4 separate regions of the Homo sapiens genome follow, and all the other regions are linked to region 4. The links are contacts of gene promoters, found by promoter capture Hi-C in blood cells and fetal thymus (Javierre and others, 2016). All regions are on one chromosome and are shown on one strand. Each heading gives the region's core, a stretch centred on a gene start or on the middle of the fragment in contact. The rest is flanking DNA. Distances are from core to core; before and after follow the strand shown.

Evidence for each region. The method cuts DNA at HindIII sites, captures the fragments that hold promoters and counts their contacts. A CHiCAGO score of 5 or more calls a contact.
Region 1: a fragment that was not itself captured here is called in contact with the fragment with the promoter of MXI1 in region 4 in 1 of 17 cell types (activated CD4 T cells); the score reaches 5.4 in activated CD4 T cells.
Region 2: a contact is called between a fragment that was not itself captured here and the fragment with the promoter of MXI1 in region 4, in 1 of 17 cell types (total B cells). The highest score is 5.3, in total B cells.
Region 3: a fragment that was not itself captured here is called in contact with the fragment with the promoter of MXI1 in region 4 in 1 of 17 cell types (fetal thymus); the score reaches 5.1 in fetal thymus.

The regions. Positions count from the first base shown.
Region 1 is chr10:110,894,319-110,899,999 of GRCh38, forward strand. PDCD4 (programmed cell death 4) reads left to right here. Exons shown (of 12, transcript NM_014456.5): 10 at 94-204; 11 at 1,630-1,769; 12 at 3,710-5,681. The coding sequence ends at 3,770. BBIP1 (BBSome interacting protein 1) reads right to left here. Exons shown (of 4, transcript NM_001195305.3): 4 at 4,412-5,681. MIR4680 (microRNA 4680) reads left to right here and starts at 3,772; the gene lies at 3,772-3,837. The HindIII fragment of the contact is 756 bases long and covers 3,381-4,136 here.
Region 2 is chr10:110,976,637-110,981,830 of GRCh38, forward strand. All of the region lies in intron 2 of SHOC2 (SHOC2 leucine rich repeat scaffold protein), which reads left to right. Among named protein-coding and RNA genes, the nearest start is that of MIR548E, 9.7 kb to the right of the region's middle. The HindIII fragment of the contact is 1,198 bases long and covers 1,067-2,264 here.
Region 3 is chr10:110,822,260-110,827,777 of GRCh38, forward strand. RBM20 (RNA binding motif protein 20) reads left to right here. Exons shown (of 14, transcript NM_001134363.3): 12 at 1,221-1,355. Among named protein-coding and RNA genes, the nearest start is that of PDCD4-AS1, 46 kb to the right of the region's middle. The HindIII fragment of the contact is 2,687 bases long and covers 803-3,489 here.
Region 4 is chr10:110,203,592-110,209,541 of GRCh38, forward strand. MXI1 (MAX interactor 1, dimerization protein) reads left to right here and starts at 4,014. Exons shown (of 6, transcript NM_130439.3): 1 at 4,014-4,491. The coding sequence starts at 4,218. RefSeq lists an enhancer at 2,095-2,595 and a silencer at 4,185-4,264. The HindIII fragment of the contact is 6,685 bases long and covers 2,252-5,950 here.

The sequences.
Region 1 (5,681 bases), core at 2,509-5,008, 690 kb after region 4:
AATTTCTACGATTACAGAAGGCATCTAGGTGCATTTTAGGAGCAGTTTCATATATGAATTAACCAAAAATTCACTCATTGATTCAATTTTTAGGCTATTATAATGGTTTTAGAGTCAACTGGAGAAAGTACATTTAAGATGATTTTGGATTTATTAAAGTCCCTTTGGAAGTCTTCTACCATTACTGTAGACCAAATGAAAAGAGTAAGTATAACATTGTTTTTGAACAACTTGTAGGATTATGTCTTAAATATATGATTGAATACAGATTATGAATTGTCAGTGAAATTTTCTTTAGGTATGTTTAGTGTTAATATGCCTATATGTTTTGTTTTTTCTTAATGGTAATGTTTGAGGTTTGAACCTTTTGCAACCATTTTTTGGAAAGTAACACTGCAGTGTTTTTTTTTTTTTTTTTACCTACTTTAACAAATGTAATTATGTATTCTACCTCAAGGGTTCGGTTTCTAAGATGTGACAATTTCTATTTTATATCTAGAGAGAAACATGAACCTTTAACTTTTAACAAATTATAAAGTACTTTTTTCCTATTAAAAATTTTATGATTATTGTTTTAAATGTTTGTGAGGTTTTTGTTTGCCTTGTATTTTTTTAAAAAGGTAGTAAGTGTAAATAGAGAAGTAGATGGGAAAGGAGTTTGCCCAATGTCTGATGTCTGCTTACAGCTCTTTTAAGAGAACAGTATTTAAAAAAAATTTTTTAGCTATGTAACCAGTTTTACTTATTTTTTTATTTATATTTTTAATTTTAGATATCAGAGGGGTATATGTACAGGTTTGTTAGATGGGTGTTTTGTGTGATGCTGAGGTTTGGGCTTCTAATTAATGATCCTGTCCCTCAGGTAGTAAATATAGTACCTGATAGGTAATTTTTCAACTCTTGTCCTCTTTCCTACCTCCCCACTTTTGAAATTCCCAATGTTTATTGTTCCCATCTTCATGTCTGTGTGTACCCAATGTTTAGCTCTCACTTACAAGTGAGACCATGCATTATTTGGTTTTATGTTTGTGATAATTTTCTTAGGATAATGGCCTCCAGCTGCATCCACGTTGCTGCAAAGGACATGATTTTGTTCTTTTTTATGGCTATGTAGCATTCCATGGGCGTATATGTACCACATTTTCTTTGTCTAATCCACCATTGATGGGCACTTGGATTGATGCCATGTCTTTGCTGTTGTGAATAGTACCCGATAAATATACAAATGCAGGTGTCATTTTGGTAGAATGATTTATTTTCCTTTGGGTATACACCCAGTAATGGGATTGTCGGGTTGAACGGTAATTCTATGTTGAGTTCTTTGAGAAATCTCCGAACCACTTTCTACAGGGGCTGAACTAATTTGCATTCCCACCAACAGCGTATAAACCTTCCCTTTTCTCCTCAACCTTGCCAATGTCTGTTATTTCCTGACTCTAATAAAAGAGAACAGTTGTAAAACACTGTAACAAATCTACTTTCTGTGCTTCTCACGATTCAAATCTGACTTCAGTTTAACCATTTGAATATTTGGCCTTAAATACAAATTGATGACATAGTGATGGATTGTGTTTTATGACATTTATTTTATATGGGCTAACAATTCTGCATGTAATTTCATTGTTGTAGGGTTATGAGAGAATTTACAATGAAATTCCGGACATTAATCTGGATGTCCCACATTCATACTCTGTGCTGGAGCGGTTTGTAGAAGAATGTTTTCAGGCTGGAATAATTTCCAAACAACTCAGAGATCTTTGTCCTTCAAGGTACTTTATTTAAATACTACTTTCTCAATGTAAAATAGTGGATGAGATCTTTGGGAAGGTTAACTGCTAAGTTAGTTTATCGTTCCCTGAAGTCACTGAAGAACGTGACTCTTGTGAGTTCATGGAGAAAGAAGGGCGAAGCTTGTTTTAGCCCCCTTGTAAATCTGTACAGGACTGCCTCATGAAGTCCTAGTTTATTTGAAAGAAACTAATCTTGTGGAGCAGGTCCTTTGTTGTAAGTAGTTTCAGTGTTTAGAGTAGGTATTATCAGTGATAAGATGAGAAAATTGAGGCTTAGGGAGGTATAATGTACTTTTTCTAAGGTCACATGGCTAGTACATGGTAGAAGCCAAGTATGAATTCAGGACTTTTCTGGCTTCAAAGATCTAGGCTCTTACCTGTACTGGATGTGGCTTCCTTGACTTCTTTACAGGTTGGAGAATTAGGGCTAATTGGATGTTCTCACTAGAAAGTGTGTGTGTTGGGGGGTGTGTGGAGGATGTTCTCACTGGAAAGTGTATGTGTGTGGGTGATTTTCCTTGGAGCTATTAATATTTTTGCTACTAGTTGGTAAGTTTTTTTGTTGTTGTTAAAGCTAATAATGAAGCTTATAATGTAATAATATAAATGTTTAGTAATAGCTAAACTTTTTGCTTGTGTGGGTCAGTTTTATATAATCTTAAGTTCTTATAATTTTTTATCTGGAAAATTTCTTAAGCTTTGATATTTTTAAGTGCATTGTAAGAATTAAAAGTCAGAAAAATATTTCCTGGTAGGGGCCTTTGCTTTAGAATTTTAGAAGCCATTAAAAGAGAGGGAAAAGAAAGTGATGAAAGATAGTTTAATAGCTTTACTAGAAATGTTTGGAAATACAGACGTTAGCTTGGTGATGGCAGGATTTATGTATGGATGTGCCAAGTGATATACATCAGTAAAAACTCTGAACTTTGGCCTTCTTATTATTGACTGCTTTTTCATTCCCTACCTTGGTCTCATACAGTCTGAAGCCTTTATGTTCAAGATGATGTAGCTGTTTTCCACTTAGACTTAATATGAAAAGGGGCCAGTACCCTGGCATTGGCTTTTTGAAAGTTTTTCAGCCTCTGTTTGAAAGTCTGATTGTTTCTGTGTGGCTTTATTCTCAAGGGTCACATGAGGCAATAAACTTTCTGTGTATACATACCATACAGCTTTGACTTGGGTCCTTCATCTTTTAGCCTATTTGGGTAAGGTGCACATTTGTGTGTGGTTTTGCATGCTTGTGCCTATTGGCCTGGGGTCAGAGAGTAAGGGCTAATGTTGCCTAAGTTCTATTTCCCACTTACTGCTTTAGGCCACTGGCCAGCTGTTCCTTCTGGGCTATTGCCACTACATGTAGGTAAGAGTGTGGTTACATTATAGAGCAGGGCTTCTTGAGTTTGACAAAGCACGAATCCCAAAATGGGGCATAGGCTGTAATTCTGATTTTTTTCCACATTCAAGTTATGGCTTTTCTACAGTTGATAAAACATTTTTTTTTAAATTGCCAAACATGGATATTTTGATAGGTTGCACAGCTCCAGTTTGCATAATTCTGAATTATGTTAGTGTTTCCTATTTGGCTTACTGTTAAGCTTACAAATAATAATTAGAAATTAATTAGAAATAATTTTAAATTTCTAAATAAAATGTTTTAGTTTGAGTCAACTTTTTTTAATGTGACTCTGTTTGGATAGTGAACTTATTAAAACAAAAACTCAGATTTGATATTGATGTTTTATGCTAAGATATATAGTAGGGAGTCTTTTCCAAAGGAATTAGAGGCATGCTTTTTTTTTTTAATGGAAAACCCTTTAAAAGCTAACACGTAACGAAAAAATACCAAGTTTTTAATTTTTTTATATATTGACTATAGTCAGAATTTGTATCTGTTTTCATGTCTTTTTTTTTCTTCATTACAGGGGCAGAAAGCGTTTTGTAAGCGAAGGAGATGGAGGTCGTCTTAAACCAGAGAGCTACTGAATATAAGAACTCTTGCAGTCTTAGATGTTATAAAAATATATATCTGAATTGTAAGAGTTGTTAGCACAAGTTTTTTTTTTTTTTTTTTTTAAGCACTTGTTTTGGGTACAAGGCATTTCTGACATTTTATAAACCTACATTTAAGGGGAATTTTTAAAGGAAATGTTTTTTCTTTTTTTTTTGTTTTTCGAGGGGGCAAGGAGGGACAGAAAAGTAACCTCTTCTTAAGTGGAATATTCTAATAAGCTACCTTTTGTAAGTGCCATGTTTATTATCTAATCATTCCAAGTTTTGCATTGATGTCTGACTGCCACTCCTTTCTTTCAAGGACAGTGTTTTTTGTAGTAAAATCACTGGTTTATACAAAGCTTTATTTAGGGGGTAAAGTTAAGCTGCTAAAACCCCATGTTGGCTGCTGCTGTTGAGATACTGTGCTTTGGGAGTAAAAAAAGAAAGTTATTTCTTTGTCTTAAAGAATTTTTAAAAAATTAGTCATGAGACTTATTCATCTTTCCAGGGAACATACTGATTGGTCTTAAAAGACTAGACAGTTAAGTAAAAGGTGGCTGGAACATCTATTTTTCTACAAAACTGGAAAAATGAACCTGGTTCTAGAAGAATGTACACCAAAATAAAACATGTGAAGCAGTATTGATTCTTTATTGGGAGTACATTTTTTTAGGTCTCTTAAACTTTAATTTCACACAGTAAATTTTGAATCTCATAAGGAAGCATATTTGAACCTAGTCAATTTAATCTTAGTGTTCCCTTGAAAACTTTTTTTCCCTACAAAATTTTAAGTGAAAAATACAATAGTAAATTAAGATTACACTGGGGAAAAAAATGCAGGTATCACTTTACTCCATTGTTATCTGACCTAGAGCTTAATTAAGTTTTAGAAATATGTAATACCTTCCATCATTCCATCATCCTTAAATTCTGTTACCAAATAATGGCTAATGTTACAAAAAGTTATACTCCAGAGACCCAAAGCTTGACATTTACCTAATGTATGAGAAAATATTACCAATTAACAATAAAGAATGATCATATTTTTAACCTCTTTTACATAGCCTAATAACTCAGCAAGGCCTCAACGTCTGTGCTAATTTAAACTGCCAAATATTGACTGCAGCAAACAAGAATTATATTCAGAATTTATGAGGGTACTGTTAGGAGTATACTGCTTACAGGTTTAGATATAGTCTGTTAGAATTAAAACCAAGTTTAGTGTTCATATTTACCTCATGGGCTTTATCAAGCCCATATTACCTCAGCTTATATATAGTTACCATTTTTAGGTTTTTAATTGTTTGACACTTGGATGATAAATGCAGTCATTTTATTCTCAAGTGCTTAAAATTAATGTAATTAAAAGCTTAGCTGACTACAGAATAGGTGAGGGTTTCTTAAAAATGAGATTTAAGGGCTGGGCACGGTGGCTCATGCCTGTAATCCCAGCACTTTGGGAGGCCGAGGTGGGCGGATCACTTGAGGTTGGGAGTTCATGACCAGCTTGACCAACATGAAGAAACCCTGTCTCTATTAAAAATACAAAAGTAGCCAGGCATGGTGGCGCATGCGTGTAATCCCAGCTACTTGGGAGGCTGAGGCAGGAGAATTGCTTGAACCTGGGAGGCAGAGGTTGCAGTGAGTCGAGATGGTGCCATTGCTCTCGTTTGGGCAACAAGAGTGAAACTCTTGTCTCAAAAAAAAAAAAAAATGAGGTTTAAGACAGTTTTGTCATTACTGGTGGGATCTGGTCACACAAGATAGCATTAAACGTGACATGGCACATAAAATTGGTTAAAAAATTTTGTTTTTTAATTACGTAATGTAAAAGCCCAACAAACACTTTATGCAAGATTGGAATGTATCTTCAAATTCAGATTTAATAAACATGTAAAGATC
Region 2 (5,194 bases), core at 416-2,915, 770 kb after region 4:
CCTAATATAGCAATGCTAGTTTGAAAGTTTCCTTTTTTCCCCCCTCAGTATTTTAGAGACACCTCTGCATTTTCTTATAGCTTGCCTAGTTTTTGACAAGAAGTCTGCTGTTATTCTGATCTTGGAGTTTATAAGCCTCTTGGATCTGTGGGTTTATGGTTTTCATCAAAATTAGAAAAATTTTGGCCATTATTTCTTGTAACTTTTCCCTTACTTGGTCATTTTTTTTCTATTATCTGAGTCTCTTATTACATGTATATTAGACTTTACATTTTAAGTCATTGATGCTCTGTTTGTCCATGTGTGTCCATGTATATTTTAGATAATTTTATTGCTATTTTTTTGTTGTTGCTGTATATCATTTCTTCTTCAGTGTCTAAATCTTACTGTTCTATACAATGAAGTTTTCATACCAGGTATTTTATTTCTCACCTCTATACATTCCATTGGGTGTCATTTTTATTCAAGTTTTCTTTACCTTGAACATATGGAGCTCATTGTTTAACAGCTTTTTCACTGTCCTTGTCTTATAGTTTCCTCTTTTATTTTTGTTTTTGTTGCTACAGAATGATTTTTCTCCTGGTTGTGGGTCATATTTTCCTGCTTCTTTGCATGTCTGGTAATTTTTTTTTGAGACAGAGTTTTGCTCTTGTTGCCCAGGCTGGAGTGCAATGGTGTGATCTCGGCCCACCGCAGTCTCTGCCTTCTGGGTTCAAGCGATTCTCCTGCCTCCCGAGTAGCTGAGATTAGAAGCATGCACCACCACACCCGGCTAATTTTGTGTTTTTAGTAGAGATGGGGTTTCTCCATGTTGGTCAGGCTGGTCTCAAACTCCCAACCTCAGGTGATCCGCCCGCCTCAGCCTCCCAAAGTGCTGGGATTACAGGCGTGAGCCACCGTACCCATCCTGCATGTTTAGTAATTTTTAATTGGATGTGAGCTTCATAACATTTTCACATTGTTGAGTCTTGGATTTTGTTGTATTCTTTTAATAGTGCTGGACTTTGTTCTGGCATACAGTTAAATTTTTCTGTAGTCAGTTTAATCCTTTCGTGGCTTGCTTTTAAGCTTTGTTATGGTAGTTTTAGTAGCCTTTTGTCTACATCTAATTTAACCCCACTACTAAGGTAATAAATTTTGATGACTCCCTGATAAACTATATATTATGAGGTCTTTTTGTGGCTGGTAGGAATTCACACTATTCACAACCTTGTGTGACTGCTGGGAATTGTTTGGGTTGCTGCTGCTAGGTCTTTGCCTAGCCTTTGGTAGTCTGTTTGTACCTAATGCAGATAAGAATTTAGGCAAACACTGCATAAGACTTTCTTGCAGATTGCACAAATCTATTTGCTGCTCTCTTCTGTCTCCAGTTCTGCCTCCCAAATTCTAACCATCTTGGCTTTCCTAGACTAAAATCGTTTGCCCTAACTTAGTAATAACTATTGGCCCTTGTTCTATATTCCTTCCCTGCTTTTTCTGTGACCTGGAACCTGCCTCCAGGCAGTAACCTGGGGCAATCATGGGACTTCTGTTGTTTTCCTGTGATACAAGGGAATACAGTCATATATGGCTGTTGTCTGCAGTCTGCAAACCATTTTCTCAAACATTTTGTTCATTTTCTAGTTGCATCATGGTGGTAAATAGAAGACAGTCTAGTAATTCTTGATTGGCTAGTATAAATAGCTAATACTGTAACTCCTGTGGATTCCATTATCCTCTGAAAAGTGTTACATTTTGTTCTGCTAGGCGGTTAAATTGCTGTTGAGTCACCTTGACCGTAGAGACTTAGATTTAGCTCTTGTAAGGGTGATGCTATTTGGTTATAGCCTTAAACCTAGGGTAAATTCCTTAGTTTTGAGATGTGATCTTTACTCTCCTATGTTATAGCCCTTTTGGAATTTTGTTTATTACTCTCCAGCAACTTGACAAGACTGAAAATCCAAACTCTTAAAGACCACAGTTGGCAACTGTTGAAATCTCTGCTCAGCTCCTTTAGCCTTCTAGCTGTGGTTCTCCCCTTGGGCTCCTTGCAGTCTCCTCTCCCACATGTATTTTCGGAGTCAGCAAGAATTTGAGGAGTGTGTATTTGAAGATTTTAGGGCTCTGCTCTTTGTGATTTCCTCCTTTACAGAGTATCCAACCTTGAATTCCAGTCACTCTTATAACCCTGAACTCTGTCCTTTGGCTTCTTAGGCAGTAGGACTCTGGCCTTCGACTTGAGATTTACTTTTCACCTGCAGATTTTTTAGTTACTTCATGGTAAAAGCTTTATAAAAAGGCATTTATGAAAGTAAATCTCATGTGATTGCTGTATTAGTTATCTATTGTTGTGTAACAAATTACTCTAAAAGATAACTCTTATAACAACAATCATTTGTTATCTTATAGTTTCTTTGTTTTGGGTATCAGGCACAACTTAACTGGACCTTCTGATTTAGTGTCTCTCACAAGGTTTTTCAGTTATAGTGTTAGCCAGGGCTTGGGAAGACTCATCTGGGAAAGGATACACATCCCAACTCATGTAGTTTTTGTTAGGACTTAGTTCCTAGCAGGTTGCTGGAGAGAGGGCTTCAATTTCTTGCTGTTGGCTGGAGACTGCTCTTAGTTCCTTTTCACATGGGTCTTTTCAACATGGCAGCTTGCCTTATCAAAGCGTGTAAGCTAAGACATCAATAAAGTGCTAGCAAGGTGGAAGTCAGAATCTTTTGTAACTGAATCACAAATGTGACATCCCATCACCTTTGCCATATTCTGTTGGTAAGAAGCAAGTCACTAAGTTTAGCCCACACTCAAGGGGAGGGGTAATTATATAACGTATACAATTATTCATGAGGCAGGGCCATTGGGGGTTATCTTAGAAGTCTGCCTATTACAGTTCTCTTCTTTTAAGGGTAAATTCCCTCTAGTTTTAACTTTGGTCTCCCTGTATGCCTTTAAGTATTTTATCCACAGTTTTAAATTATCAACACGACTTCACCACCCTTAGCCAGAGCTCAGTGTTTGCAGATGTTAAATCCAGCTTTCTCTTAGGACAAAAATGTTCTACCATGATAACATTTTCTTCATCTTTTTCCCCCATAGTTAGCCACTAAATATTTTACGTAGATGTCTCACTGATATCTTAAATTCTTCATGACCAAACTGTAACTTCAGCTCAACTTTTCTTCCTTGTGGATTCCATTCCTCTCTCATAATTGCATCTTATCTTCTCTATCAACCCAAGCTCAGTATCTTCGGATCAGAGAATTTTGTTGTTGTTCTGATTCTAGTCAAGGTGTAGCCTACTCACTAGACAGGTACTGGGCCACCAACTGTTTGTTACTAGTTTGCCCAAATTAAGAACAGAAATTGAAAGTAAGCATTTAGAATCTTACATAACAATTTGACATTGCTGAGACATCCAAGTGTGTGAGTTTGTGTTTTAAATATTCATCTACAACCAGTTGGGAACAGCAAAAGACAAAGAACCAGGCCTTCACCATCTGTAGTCTGAAAAGCGTTGTTCTACCCCATTCCTGTCACTTTTTTTTTTTTTTTTTTGAGATGGTCTCACTCTGTCGCCTAGGCTGGAGTGCAGTGGCGCAGTCTCTGCTCACTGCAAGCTCCGCCTCCCGGGTTCATGCCATTCTCCTGCCTCAGCCTCCCGAGTAGCTGGGACTACAGGCGCCCACCACCATGCCCGGCTAATTTTTTGTGTTTTTAGTAGAGACGGGGTTTCACCGTGTTAGCCAGGATGGTCTCGATCTCCTGACCTCGTGATCTGCCCACCTCGGCCTCCCAAAGTGTCCTGTCACTTTTTCTTCTCTCTTGATAGTAGGCCTGTTGTTCACTCACTTACTTCCACTGCCATTGAGGTAGTATAGACCTTCACACTATTTCTCGTGGGCTAATTGCAGTAGCTTCAACCTAGGCTCTGTGTTTTTTATTTGTCTTTCTCAAGTCCATCCATTCAAACCTAGAGAAAACAGACTTTTTAGAACAGTACTCTGATTATCATGGTTTGCTTCAAAACTTTAAATTGTGCTTTATTATCTGGTCAAAATGGTCTAGATTCCTTAGGTTGATATTTAAGACCCTAGATTTCTCACTTTGTTCCCCTCCTCTCCTTATTGCTTATTTTCCCTCCCAATCCCCTGGGTCTCAGTTCAAATATGCTTTTTTTTTTCACCCCAACTTCCCCCAACAGTCAGTTCCAACTTCCTTTCCTTATGTGTTTTCTTGTTGTTGTTTACAGCAGTTATCACATTCTGACACTTTATTTCCTTATTTTATGATTCCCCACTCCATGCACACTACAGTGTAAGTTTCATGTGGATGGAAACTTGCTTTGTTTCCTGCACTGCTGAATCTTTCATGTAGATGGAAACTTGTTTCATTTCCTGCACTGTTGAATCTCTAGTAGGTGCACAGTAAGTTTTTCTTTCATGAATGAGTCAGTGAAATGGGTCACCACCTTAAAGATAAAGAACTTTGTGAATGGCCATGAAGATCCAAAAGAATGGCTCTTTAATGGTGAAATTTTATAAGCAAGCAGTGAAGGACCTATTTGGAGCAGAGACTCTCTAGCCTCCCTCAAATCACATTATAGTCTTTTTACGAATTGTAAGTTTCATGAATACAAACATTTAGTATATTGTAGTCTGTTTCTTCAGTGCCCAGTATTGTGTCTGGAAAAAGAGAATGTACATATCAATAATTTTTTGTCTGAATGAATGAATTAATGCAGTAAGTGTTCCTACCAAGCTCCCAGCTGTGGCTTCTACTCCTGGTGACTCTGCATCACATTTCTCTCCAGTTCTGGGGCAGAGGTTTGTCCTTAGATCTCAAAAGGATGTAAGAAAAGTTGATAATCTTCACTTTGTTCAGCCTTTTTCTTGTGAGGACAGGAACGATGACTTCAAAATTTTTTATGTGTTAGATTGGAAACTGGAAGTCGGCTGTAAGTTTTTATAGAAGATTTTTACTAAATTGAGGTAATTCCCCACTGTTTCTAAATTGGTGACAGTTTTTAACATGAATGCATTTTGAATTTGTTAAAAGTTTTCCTTGTATGAATCATCAAATGATCTTACTTCTTTAGACTGTTGATATGGTAAATAACATTGATTGATTTTCAAATATTAAACCCACCTTGCATATCTGGAATTAATCCTAATCATTCTCGGTCATGATGTATAATCCCTTTTATATTGTT
Region 3 (5,518 bases), core at 896-3,395, 620 kb after region 4:
ATCAGGAGGAGCCTCGTGCCTGCACAGCAGAGGGCCACCCAGGCTGTTATTTCTGTGATGGGGGCAAGAGTAGGGGATACAAGAAAGGAGTGGAAGGGGAAGGAACAGAGGATCCTTAAAGGGTACAGCTGTTCCCCTTCTTACTACCTCAGACCCATTTTTTGCTAGGGTCTGACAGTGATACAAGACTTGTTTCAGGATATTCTCTCACTCCATTGGAGGTGACGTTTTGTGCCTATGCCCGGCACTGTGACATCATGAAAGAGAGAGTTTAAAATAGGCTAAGCCCCGTCTTCTCTGCCAAGTGGAACTTAAGATCCATCAGGGGGTTTGGGGGGAGGGAGAGAGAGTAGCCTTTAAGATTCTCACTGTGAAAATAATTAGGGATTTGCTTTACAGAAAGCCTGTAGCACACCAGAGGTTGAAGTGAGAGTCAGGGGCAGAAAATACAGAGGAAAGGCTTAAAAATGAACATTTCAACCCAGGGCCCTGTGGGTGGCATGAGCTGTTAGGTAACTGGGAGGCTTGGGATTTTTTCCATGTCAAGCTGACCTGAGCTGTTTTTTACCTGCACGGATCTGAGTTTCCATGGAAACCCCGCCGTGAAATGCCTTCTTGTTGCTAGAGAAACCGTGAGGCCCAGGCTCTGTCTAGAGAAGGCAAGAATAAAGGAGGAGTGAAATCTTCACCTCACTCCAATCAAGCCCCTTTTATTTTGCGGTATAGGTCTCAACATGTGCCAGTGTTAGAGGCTCATTAACTGACCCAGTGTTTGGGGTTCATATTTAATAACAGCTTGACAAGCTTGGGGAGAGAATGGCATTGCCTGTTTTGCTAGCCTCGGTGGACGTCAGCACAATTTTTGCCCGTCAGTAATTCCTCTGCCTGCAGAGATGGAATGATACTGAGATGGGAGGCATGGGGGGTGGGGGGTGGATCTTCTCAACTGAAGGCATCAGCAGCCCATCCCCCTGGGCCAAATGCAAACATTTGCCAAGTTTTATTGTGTGTGGCATTCTTTTGGCAGTGGAAAAAGCTCCTAATGACAGTGCTTTGGTTCTAATTAGCAACCATTGCCCCAGCCTTATGTGATTAAGCAGTCCAAGGAACAATTCCCAATCATACTATGCAGGCATAGAATTTCAGGGACTCTTTGAGGCATGTTGTATTTCTTTTTTTTTTTTTTTTTTTTTTTTTTTGCCTTGGTTCATGTTTTGCAGAAAACTCCAGGTACGTGGAAATGAAATCTCTGGAGGTGAGGTCACCAGAGTACACTGAAGTGGAACTGAAACAGCCCCTTTCTTTGCCCTCTTGGGAACCAGAGGATGTGTTCAGTGAACTTAGCATTCCTCTAGGTAAGCAAAACACACAGTCTTTCCTGAAATTCAGGTCTAGGAAATAACAGTTCCATAGCAACCTCAAGAGCTTGAGAGAGCTTTTTGGCATTTTGTTGTTGACATCGTTTTTTGTTCTTTTGAGACAAGGTCTCACTCTGTCACCCAGGCTGCAGTGCAGTGGCATGATCTCAGCTCACTGCAGCCTCAAATTCCTGGGCTCAAGTGATCCTCCCACCTCAGCCTCCTGAGAAACTTGGACAACAGGTACACACCACCAGGCCCGGCTAATTTTTTTAATTTTTTTTTTTTTTGCAGAGATGGGGTCTCCATATGTGGCCCAGGCTGGTCTTCACCTCCTGGGCTTAAGTGATCCTCCTGCCTCAGCTTCCCAAAGTGCTGGGACTACAGGTGTGAGCCACTTCACCTGGCCGGCCTATCGTTATTTTAAGTGTATGATGCAATAACCTAGATTTGCAAGGGGCGGCTGTAAACTTTCTTGCAATTTCAGTCTCCCGTAATAGACCAGATACTCCGTGAAAACAGCCTTGAATAACAGTGCCCTGGGACCCAGAACTAAGAAGTCCTGTTTTTCCTGTCAGGGAATGCTTTATTCTTGATGACATGGAGTCTTTAAGCCTAGCCTTTATTCAGGCAGGAAAGCAGATGCCCAGCAGCCTCCATAAAGTCAACAAAAATGAACTTCGTCTGCTATTGTTCATTGCTCCAGTCCTTCCCAGAACAATGCTACATATTTTTTTCTCTTTAAAGGACCAACTTTTCTGAGGCAATGATGCTGAATAGAATGTGTTTGGGGCAGACTACCCCTAGTTCATAGAAAGGGTATTGAACAGGGAGACCTGGGTTTCTGTTCTTCCTACTTATGGGTGACTGTGTGCCCTCAGGTAAGTCATACCCCTTCTTGAGCCTTAGTTTCCTCTCTGTAATTTAGACAGCGATTTTTTCAATGGTGGAAGTGTTGGGAATGAAGTGGGGAGGGAGTTTACTGATGGAATCACCTAGGAATGAATCCCTTTTCAAAGAGAAGAGTTAAGCAGAGTCTCAGGGTAGGGAGTGAAGGCACTTTAAGAAAGTTCCCTGGGAGATTCTGACACAACCACTAACCCAGCAACTCCAGCCTACATCATCTTTGAGTCCCCTCGCATTAGCTCTGAAAGGTCGGAATTAGATAAAGTAGTAGTAGCAGCTGCTCAGAAGGAGAGCTCAGGAAAGTGTCACCTGGGAAAGTGTCACAAGGAAGCATAAAAAGCACGGGTCATCTGATGCCTGATGACCACGTGTCTGATCATGCAGGGAGGGGCTGGTCAGTGTGGAGGCTCGTCCTTTCCATCCAACTTGCTCTTTTTTTCCCTTCTCCTTTAAAAAAATCTCTTACTATTTCTTTCCTCCAGGTGTACCATTTTTATAGTCAGATCTGGAGAGCAAACTTCCTTTTTTTTTTAAGGGATAAATTTGCTGCACAGCATCTCCCAAGACAAAAACATAAGAAAGAAGGAAAAAGAAATACTAACTTTAGAATAAACTGAGATGACCCTGGGTATTTTAGCTCTAGAAAACAGTTGCAAAGGCCACCCTGCAGGAGAAGAGAGGGCTCCTTCATGCATTCAGTCAGTCAGCAAATACTTACTGGATAACATGGTACTGTGCTAGACACTCTGGGGTAACCAAGAAATATAACGCAAGTCTCTTGTCATCCAAGAACTTGGAACCTAATTGATACTAGCAAAAATTAAGAATAAATTCTGCTACCTTGTAATTTGTGTTTTACTACTGTTTTTCATTATAGAAAGTGTGAAAGATTATTGTAACAAATTCAAAAAATAAGAACCATATCAAGTCAATATTAAAGGTCTGATTGATCTCTTCCCTCCAGTCTCTCCCCAGTCTCCAGAGGTAGCCTACCACTGTCATGCCCAGTTTTTCTCTCACAAAAATGGGATCACACTACACACATAATGTTCTGCAAGTTCACTTAGTAGCAGGTCTTAGACATTTCTTCATGTCAGTACATAGAGAACACATTCTTTTTAACCACTGCAAATATTCCATCGTAAAAGCTATGCTATAAATGACTGATCTTTCCTCTGCTGGTGAACAGTTAGGCTGTCTGCTCTTTTTCCCATTTTAATAGCTAAGCTTTTATTGTTAACATTCCCCATGCAGGCACCATCCCTAGGGATCTGTATGTATTATCACATTTAACCCTCTCAAAACACCTATGAGGTAGGTGCTGTTTTTATCCTTATTTAACAGATAAAAAATCTGAAATGCAGAGTCACACAGCTAATAACTGGCAAAAACCAGAGTCAGGTTCAAATCCCAGTCATCTGACTCTAGAGCCATGTTCTTAGCTTCTGTTCTCTGCTGCCTTTCAGATGTGCTTGTTCAGTGGTATGTGTATGCCAGTGTTCCTGTGGGAGAGCGTCCTAGCCAGGGGGTTGTAGGGTGGTATGTATTTGCATTTTAAATTTTCATAATTGCTACTAAATTGCACTCCAAAAAGATGGTATCAGTTTTCCCTGCGACCTTGAGTGAGAGTTCCCAATATCCACCTCCCATTGGATTTTATCAGTTTTTAATCTTTCCTAACCAGTTAGGAAGAAAATAGTATCTCACCTTTTTAAAATTGGCTCTATTGAGTTATAATGGATATAAAGTAAGTGCATATCAAGTGCATAGTTTGATCAGTTTTGACCTATAAATATACCTGTGAGACCATCACCACAATCAAGACTGGGAACAATGTTCATCATATCCCAAATTTCCTGTCTCCTATGTAACCCCTCCCTCCCCACAGTGCAACCCCCAGGTAAAGGATCTCCTTTCTGTCACTAAATATTAGTTTGCATTTTCTAGAGTTTTATATAAAGGGAATCATATTGTATGTGCTAGTTTGGCTTCTTTTGCTCAACATCATTGAGATTCATCTGTACTGTTGGGTGGATCAGTAGTCTGTTTCATTCTTCTTCTTTTTTTTTTTTTTTTGAGACAAAGTTTTTCTCTCGTTACCCAGGCGGGAGTACAGTGGCATGATCTTGGCTCACTGCAACCTCCACCTCCTGGGTTCAAGTGATTCTCCTGCCTCAGCCTCCGGAGTAGCTGGGATTACAGGCACCTGCCACCACGCCTGGCTAGTTTTTGGTCTTTTTTTAGTAGAGATAAGGTTCCACCATGTTGGCCTTGAACTGTTGGGGTCTTGAACTCCTGACCTCAGGTGATCCACCTGCCTCAGCCTCCCAAAGTGCTAGGATTACAGGTGTGAGCCACCGTGCCCGGCCAGTCTGTTTCTTTTTATTGTTGAGGAGTATTGCGTTGCATATATGGATACATCACATTCTGTTTATTTATTCATCTGTTGACAAATATTTGGGTTGTTTTCAGTTCGGGGCCTTTACAGATTGTATTTGTTAATAGTCTTCAGTTAGCTTTGAGATTCATTATCTCATTGGTCCCCGAAGGAAGAGTATGGTATGAGGTTCTGCATTTGACAGGTGAGGAAACTGAAGTCCAGAGACTTACCCAGGATGACATAGCAAACGCAGGTTAGAACTCAGGATTTCTCAGCCTGGGCAACATAGGGAGACCCTGTCTCTGCAAAAAAATAAAATAAAATAAAACTAGCCAGGAGTTGTGGTGTAAATCTGCAGTCCCAGCTACTTGGGAGGCTGAGGGAGGAGGATTGCTTGAACCTGGGAGGAGATCCAGGCTGCAGTGAGCCATTATTGTGCCACTGCACTCCAGCCTGGGCAGCAGAGTGAGTGAGACCCTGTCTCAGAAAAAAAGGAAAAGAAACAAAAAAAAAAACTCAGGATTTCCGATCTCAGATCACTCTGTTCTCCAGGTTCTTCCAGTTCAGGCAGCAACACAGTGTAGGAAAGGCTACATTTGTGCAGAAACTATGAACACAGTCTGTGGAATCTGATTCCCTGAGTTTAAATCCCCTGTCTACTACCTACTGGCTGGATGACAAAGAGCAACTTATTTAACCTCTGCTTGGATTTCTTCATCTGTGAATCAGCCATAGTAATAGGAGGCTACTACGCAGAGTTATTTCGAGGATTAAGTGAACAAATACTGGTAAGGTCTTAGTGGCTTCCAGTGGGAGGTACTTAATAAGGGTTGTCTATTATTATTATTCACTCATGAAATATTTAAGACCTATT
Region 4 (5,950 bases), core at 2,764-5,263:
GCCCCAGTATTATGCCATGCATGTGCTAGGTGCCAGGGCCTGGGGATGCTAGGAGGAGCAAGGTGTGCTTCCTGCCCTTGATGAGCTCATAGTCTAATAAGCCCTCTAAGTACTGGGTGTTGGACAGGAGAAGCCCAGGAGTCTGCTGAACCAGGAAGAGGCTGCCAGACTCACAGTTCTGGGAGAAAGGAGGGCAGAGTCCAGGAGAGCTGAGATAATGCCTCCAGGAGCAGGTGACACCCAGTGAACTCCACTGTAGGGCGGAGGCTACTTATCCCCTGCCCATGTCTATACCCACTGGTGAGTGTGTGGGTGGTGGTGGGTGGTATGGGCAGTGGTTAGAGGAGGCCTGGTCAGCACTTTTAGGCCATGGGAGAGGCAGAGTCTCACAGTTCTCCTTGTTCCTACCATTCTGCTTGTGTCTTACAGTTCCTAACCCTCTATTCTTGGGCCTTCTACAGGGCCACTCCTTTCTAACAAATGAAAGCAAGAGTCAGGCCCCCAAGGAGAAGGAGCTGTGAGCCAGTTCCTCATCTCACTGCCAGATGATTCCTTTCCAAAAGGGAAAGGTACCCAGGAAAACTGTGGCTGGGAAAGCTCTGAGAATTAGGACTCAAGTGACAAGGGAGGGGACAGAAGAGCTCTTCATGGTGTTTGCCAAGTCTGAGTACAAAGATCACAGGGCAAAGAGTAAGAAAGAATCTGACTAGGACATTTTGGCAAGGTCCAAGGAGAAACTAGAGGGTGGACGAGTGACGGATTTAGGCAGAAAAGGCTGGTGAGTGGGGAATAGATGAGGCAGGAAGAGCAAGGCTAAGGAACCCAAGAGAGCCAAAATGGTCCATGACAGAGGGAAGAGCATCCCATCCCAATGCAAGGTGGGTAGGTTTCGATGGCAACGCATCCATCGCCTTCTCAGTAATTAACCAGCCTCTGTGTACATAAAGACATAATTATAGGCCAAACAACTCCTTTGATGTAAGAGTATAGAACGTCTGGGGGGAAAGGGGCAAATAAAAGAAAGAACAATCTTGCTTTAATATACAAACAAGGTCCATGGAAAGGTATTGCCAAACAAGCAAATAAGCCAAACAAACAAATGAACAGAGTGTTGGGAAAGCAGGACCCAGGCCGACTGGGCACCCAAGATATCCCGGGCCCTCTGAGAGCATTCTAGCTGACTTCATTGGGCATTTCTGCTTTTCTTTCAAAGAGTTCACATGTGTTCTCATCAGAATGGCTGTATTCACATCCCCTACCTGTTCTATGCAGAAATTCTCAGCATTTCCAAAGGGGCCTGTTTACTTCTGGAATCAAAACCCCAAAGAAAGGGGGGGTTGCAAAGGGTTTGAATGGCTCCTCCTGGGAAGCAAATCTAATCGGGAATGGAGCTGAGCTTGTAACCCAGCATCCTGGATGCCTGTCCTGTGATATAACCCCTGAAACACCACTCTTTCTGTTGGGGCCAACTTTATTAGAGAAATCTGTTAATTGGGGAACGGAGCGGGAGAAGGGAGAGAGCAATGGGATGTTAATATGATTTAACACTTGATGGGCTCTGAAAACAAATAAGGAGGGGGCTTCGGGCTTTAGCTTGGCACATTCGTCGTTCCACATACGTGTTACCAAAATGAATATATGCAACTAAACTATATGCGAGACTCTGGGGGCACAGTAACACAGACTTTGTGAAACAAAAAGGCATTTCTCCTGCTTCCACTGTGTCTCTTGTGGTGCCATTGTCTGATGCTAAGAACTCACATAATAACAAAAAACAATGCCCCTATGATGGGGGGAAAACTTGATTTGGCACCAGCCGTGGTGTTTTCCATGGGAATGATGGTGGGGGCTGTGGCCGACTGTGGGAATAGTGCAAATCAGCACTTTTTTGTAGATTTTCTTCAAGCCATTGTTTATTTTGGCTTTGGTCAGATCCGTGGCCCAGCTTGAAGATTCCCACTGGGCTTTCTGAAACTCGCAGACCTATGAGAGATGGAACAGGGATAAATAAATAATTACAAAACACCCTTCCCCCACCATGGCACTCATGCATGCGTGTGCCTGTCTTGGTGGTGCATGTATGTTGCAGTACTATACATCTGACCCATGCCACCAATGGGCAATTAAAGAGAAAGCAAGGTTTTCTCTGGGCTTAGCTGGTTCATTGTCTCAGTACCATCTTTCATTTGGGGCAAGAGAGATCAGAGCTGTTTCACACAAGGGCCAGTTTTTGCAAAATGGCATTGGAGAAAGCTTGTTTGAAACTGTGCATACATGAGGTCTTCCTAACATTTTTAGATGTTTACAGGCATTTCAACACGAATAACTCAGGTTGTGGTTCTCACAGAAGCAAAAAATCAGTAATTGTTCTAATAATGGAAGATAAACTTTTTTTTTTTTTTTTTTTGAGACGGAGTCTGGCTCTGTCGCCCAGGCTGGAGTGCAGTGGCGCTATCTCGGCTCACTACAAGCTCCGCCTCCCGGGTTCACGCCATTCTCCTGCCTCAGCCTCCGGAGTAGCTGGGATTACAGGCATGCGCCACCACGCCCGGCTAATTTTGTATTTTTGGTAGAGACAGCGTTTCTCTATGTTGGTCAGGCTGGTCGCGAACTCCCAACCTCAGGTGATCTGCCCGCTTTGGCCTCCCAAAGTGCTGGGATTACAGGCGTGAGCCACTGCGTCCGGCCATCAAGAGTTTTTATGACAATGTGTATGAAGCTGCCTTTGAGTAGGGTGGCTGCATCGCACACCTCCAGGGGGCAGCATTGTCTTTGTCCTCTATATAAATGGTTCCCCTGGAGGAAAACTCCAGGTGACCTTGCAAAGTAACCATATTTAGATGGGCTTGTCATAGAGATATTTTCCAAGGAAGTGCAGAAGAGTCTTGTTCACTACATCTTGTTCCTTTCTTAGATACAAGTTACATCAGAATAGGGGACTCAGGCTCTTGCCTGGGTCTGGATTGGAAGAAAAAGAGCTTACCATGGGCCAGAGTGTGCTAAGTCAGATACAATACACAAGCATCTTATCACACATTTCAATGATGTGGAAACTTAGGCCAAGAGAGGTTAAGGGACTTGTCCAAGCTCACACAGTCTGTATGCAGCAGAGCTGGGATTTGAACCCTTTCCTATGGCACCCTAGAGCAGCCTTCAATCATCCCCTGACACCTCCAGTACTTCCCAGGGCTGGAAAGCATCCATGATTGCGGACAGCAGTGGCAGTGAAACAATGTCAGCTGGGGTAGGGGTTTTCAGAGGCAAAAGGTGGAATTCAGCTGGGGAGGGGGGTGGTTCCTGAGCTGCCACTTCTGCCTCTCAAATTAAAGGGAGCCAGGTGTGGAGGCATCCTGGTGTGAGCTTTGCACAGCTGAACCAAGGCTGGGCAGAGGAGTGTGGAGAGGGATGCTGACATCTCCTCCCACTTCTGGAAAATAACTTTGCATTTGAAGGGAGAAAGGCATGAGTAAATCTGTAACTCGGATTTGGACGGCCTGGGATTTCATTTGACTGTGTGAAGGCACACACAGGTGCCTCGCAAGTGTGTGCGTGATTACGTATGTATGTGTGTCTGTGAGTAGGAGTGTTTGTGTTGGGGGTGGGGGGATCTTCTGGTTACACACTGGTTCCCTTCTTCCCATTTGGATTGGGGAGCTTTTATTTATTTATTTTTAAGTCATAGCAGCCACCATGTATGGGGACCTAACTATGTGCCAGGCATTGTGCTGGACACTTTCTGAGGCATTATTTTTCTGTGAAAAAAGTAGTTTGTTTTTATGCAGGTGCACCCAGAGACATCAGGTATTTTTTTCCATTCCGGTTAAAAGACAGTGTTCTACTCTGTGGTAAGCCTTGGGGAGAGGCAGGGAAGCCTGCGGGGACGGGCAGGGGCGGTCCCTGCCTCGCTCGCTAGTCTCCACCTTTTATTTTGACCGGTCCGATGGCGACAGGCTCGCACTAGGACCCAGGCGCCAGAGTGCCTCCGTCTGTCCTGTAGGTTCATTCAATCTCCCATACACACAGACTCACAGCGAGACCGACACACACTCCCATACACTCACACACACAACTGCAGGCAGCGAGGCTCGGGAAGTCAGGCCGGCTTTTCGCCCCGGCGCCTTCTCTGCTCCAGCCGGCCGGGTCTCCCTGGGGGCCCGGAGCTCGGCCGGGCCGCGCAGCCCCGTTAGAGGACGAGCTCGGCGGACCCCCGCTCCTCCATGGGCAAACGCGGGCGGCCGCGCAAGGAGGCGCGCTGCGAGGGCGCGGGGCTGGCCCCCGCCGCGCCCCCGGCTGTGCCCCCCGCCGTGGCCGCGCCCCAGCCCCCGGCCCTGCCCGAGGACCCCGCTGGGGCCAAGCCCAGGTGCCCCTTCTCAGACATTTTCAACACCAGCGAGAACTCGATGGAGAAGCACATCAACACTTTTCTGCAGAACGTGCAGATTCTGCTCGAGGCCGCCAGCTACCTGGAGCAGATCGAGAAAGAAAACAAAAGTAAGTTTGGGGGCCCCTGCTCTTCCTCGGCGCCCGGTTCTTTCTTTCTCGCCCACTTGGGCGACCCCTGTTGCGAGCTCGGCCCGTCCCCCCCCCGCCCAACATACACATCCAGCCCTTGGCAGTAAAGCCGATGACACCGGAGAAAGGACACGCACGCACAAAGCTGCTAAAGATGTAACAAAGACGGGCGAGGGGGAGAGGGGCCTGTCGGTGCGTCGGTCTGTCCTCTCCGGCGGGCTGGGGCTGGGAGGATGGCCCAGCGGAGGAGCGGGGGAGTGTTGTTGTTTGCTGACAACTGAGCCGAGAGCTCATCTCTTTGAGGTCGCTTTTCTTCCTTTTTTTTTTTTTTTTTTCCGGAGCCTTCTCAGGCAGACAAGTGTTGTTTTTCTGTTGCTCGTTCCTGGGTGGGGTGGGGATTAGAAGCCGAAAGTTGGAAACCATAGGCAGAGCTCAGAGGTTCCAGAAAGAAAACACACAGACACACACTACAACAATAACAACCAAACAGCTCTCCACGGCGTGGGCTCGGCTCTGTCTCTCTCTCTCCCTCCTACTTCGCCTTTTTCCTTCCCTCTAGCAGCAGGACTGGGCTCAGGCCATCACGTCTACGGACACAGTCCCCCTGCACGTCCGTTGCCGTGGGGTGCCACCGCCGCCCCCCCCCCCCCAAAGAAGGAGGCCGGCGGGGCCAAGCAACGCCAGCAGCTCGCCCCGGACACGCCGTCCTGAGCCCGGGAAACTTGGCCGTGGGGACGCGGCTAGAAGGAAACTTTGGGATCTTTGAGAAACAATAGTTGGGGAAGAAGGTGTGGGCTGTTCTGTGCTTTTTCTTTATTTTCCGGGAGACGGCTCTTGAGTGAGCGCACAGGGCAAGCAAGGCAAACGCCTTCCTGGTCGATTTCTACTCCCCCCACCCGCCCACCCCCAGATTCACGTGGATAGTAGTGCGTGGGTGGGGGTGTGCTGGGAACCCCACCCTGGCCTGGCTTCTTTTTTGTATTTATTTGTTTCATTTTTGCCCCTACCAGCCAGGTCACCCAGCTTTCCCCAGGCAGTCGACTCAGCGCCCTAACGGGGGCACGCGTGTGCAGCGTATCCAGCACCGTCCTCAGAATAATAGCTGTGAAAAGGAGGAAGGGAACTAGGCAGACAGACCGACAGATAGGGGGAAACCGGGATGTTTAATGTGTCCGAACAAGTAGGAAGATCAATGAGGCGCGAGTGTGTGTGTGTACGTGTGCGCGTGTGTGTGTGAGAGAGAGAGAAAGAAAGAAGAAAGGTCCCGATTGCAACGTGTCAGATCTTGCAACCTTCCCCCCACCCAACACAACAACCCTCAGACACAAAAACACCATTGCTGACTGATACCCCAGGTCTTCAGGGTTAAAGGAACCGTGTGTTGGCAGCGCAATTGTGCAGACGCTGTAAGGCCAAAACGAGGATTTGTGTTGTGAGG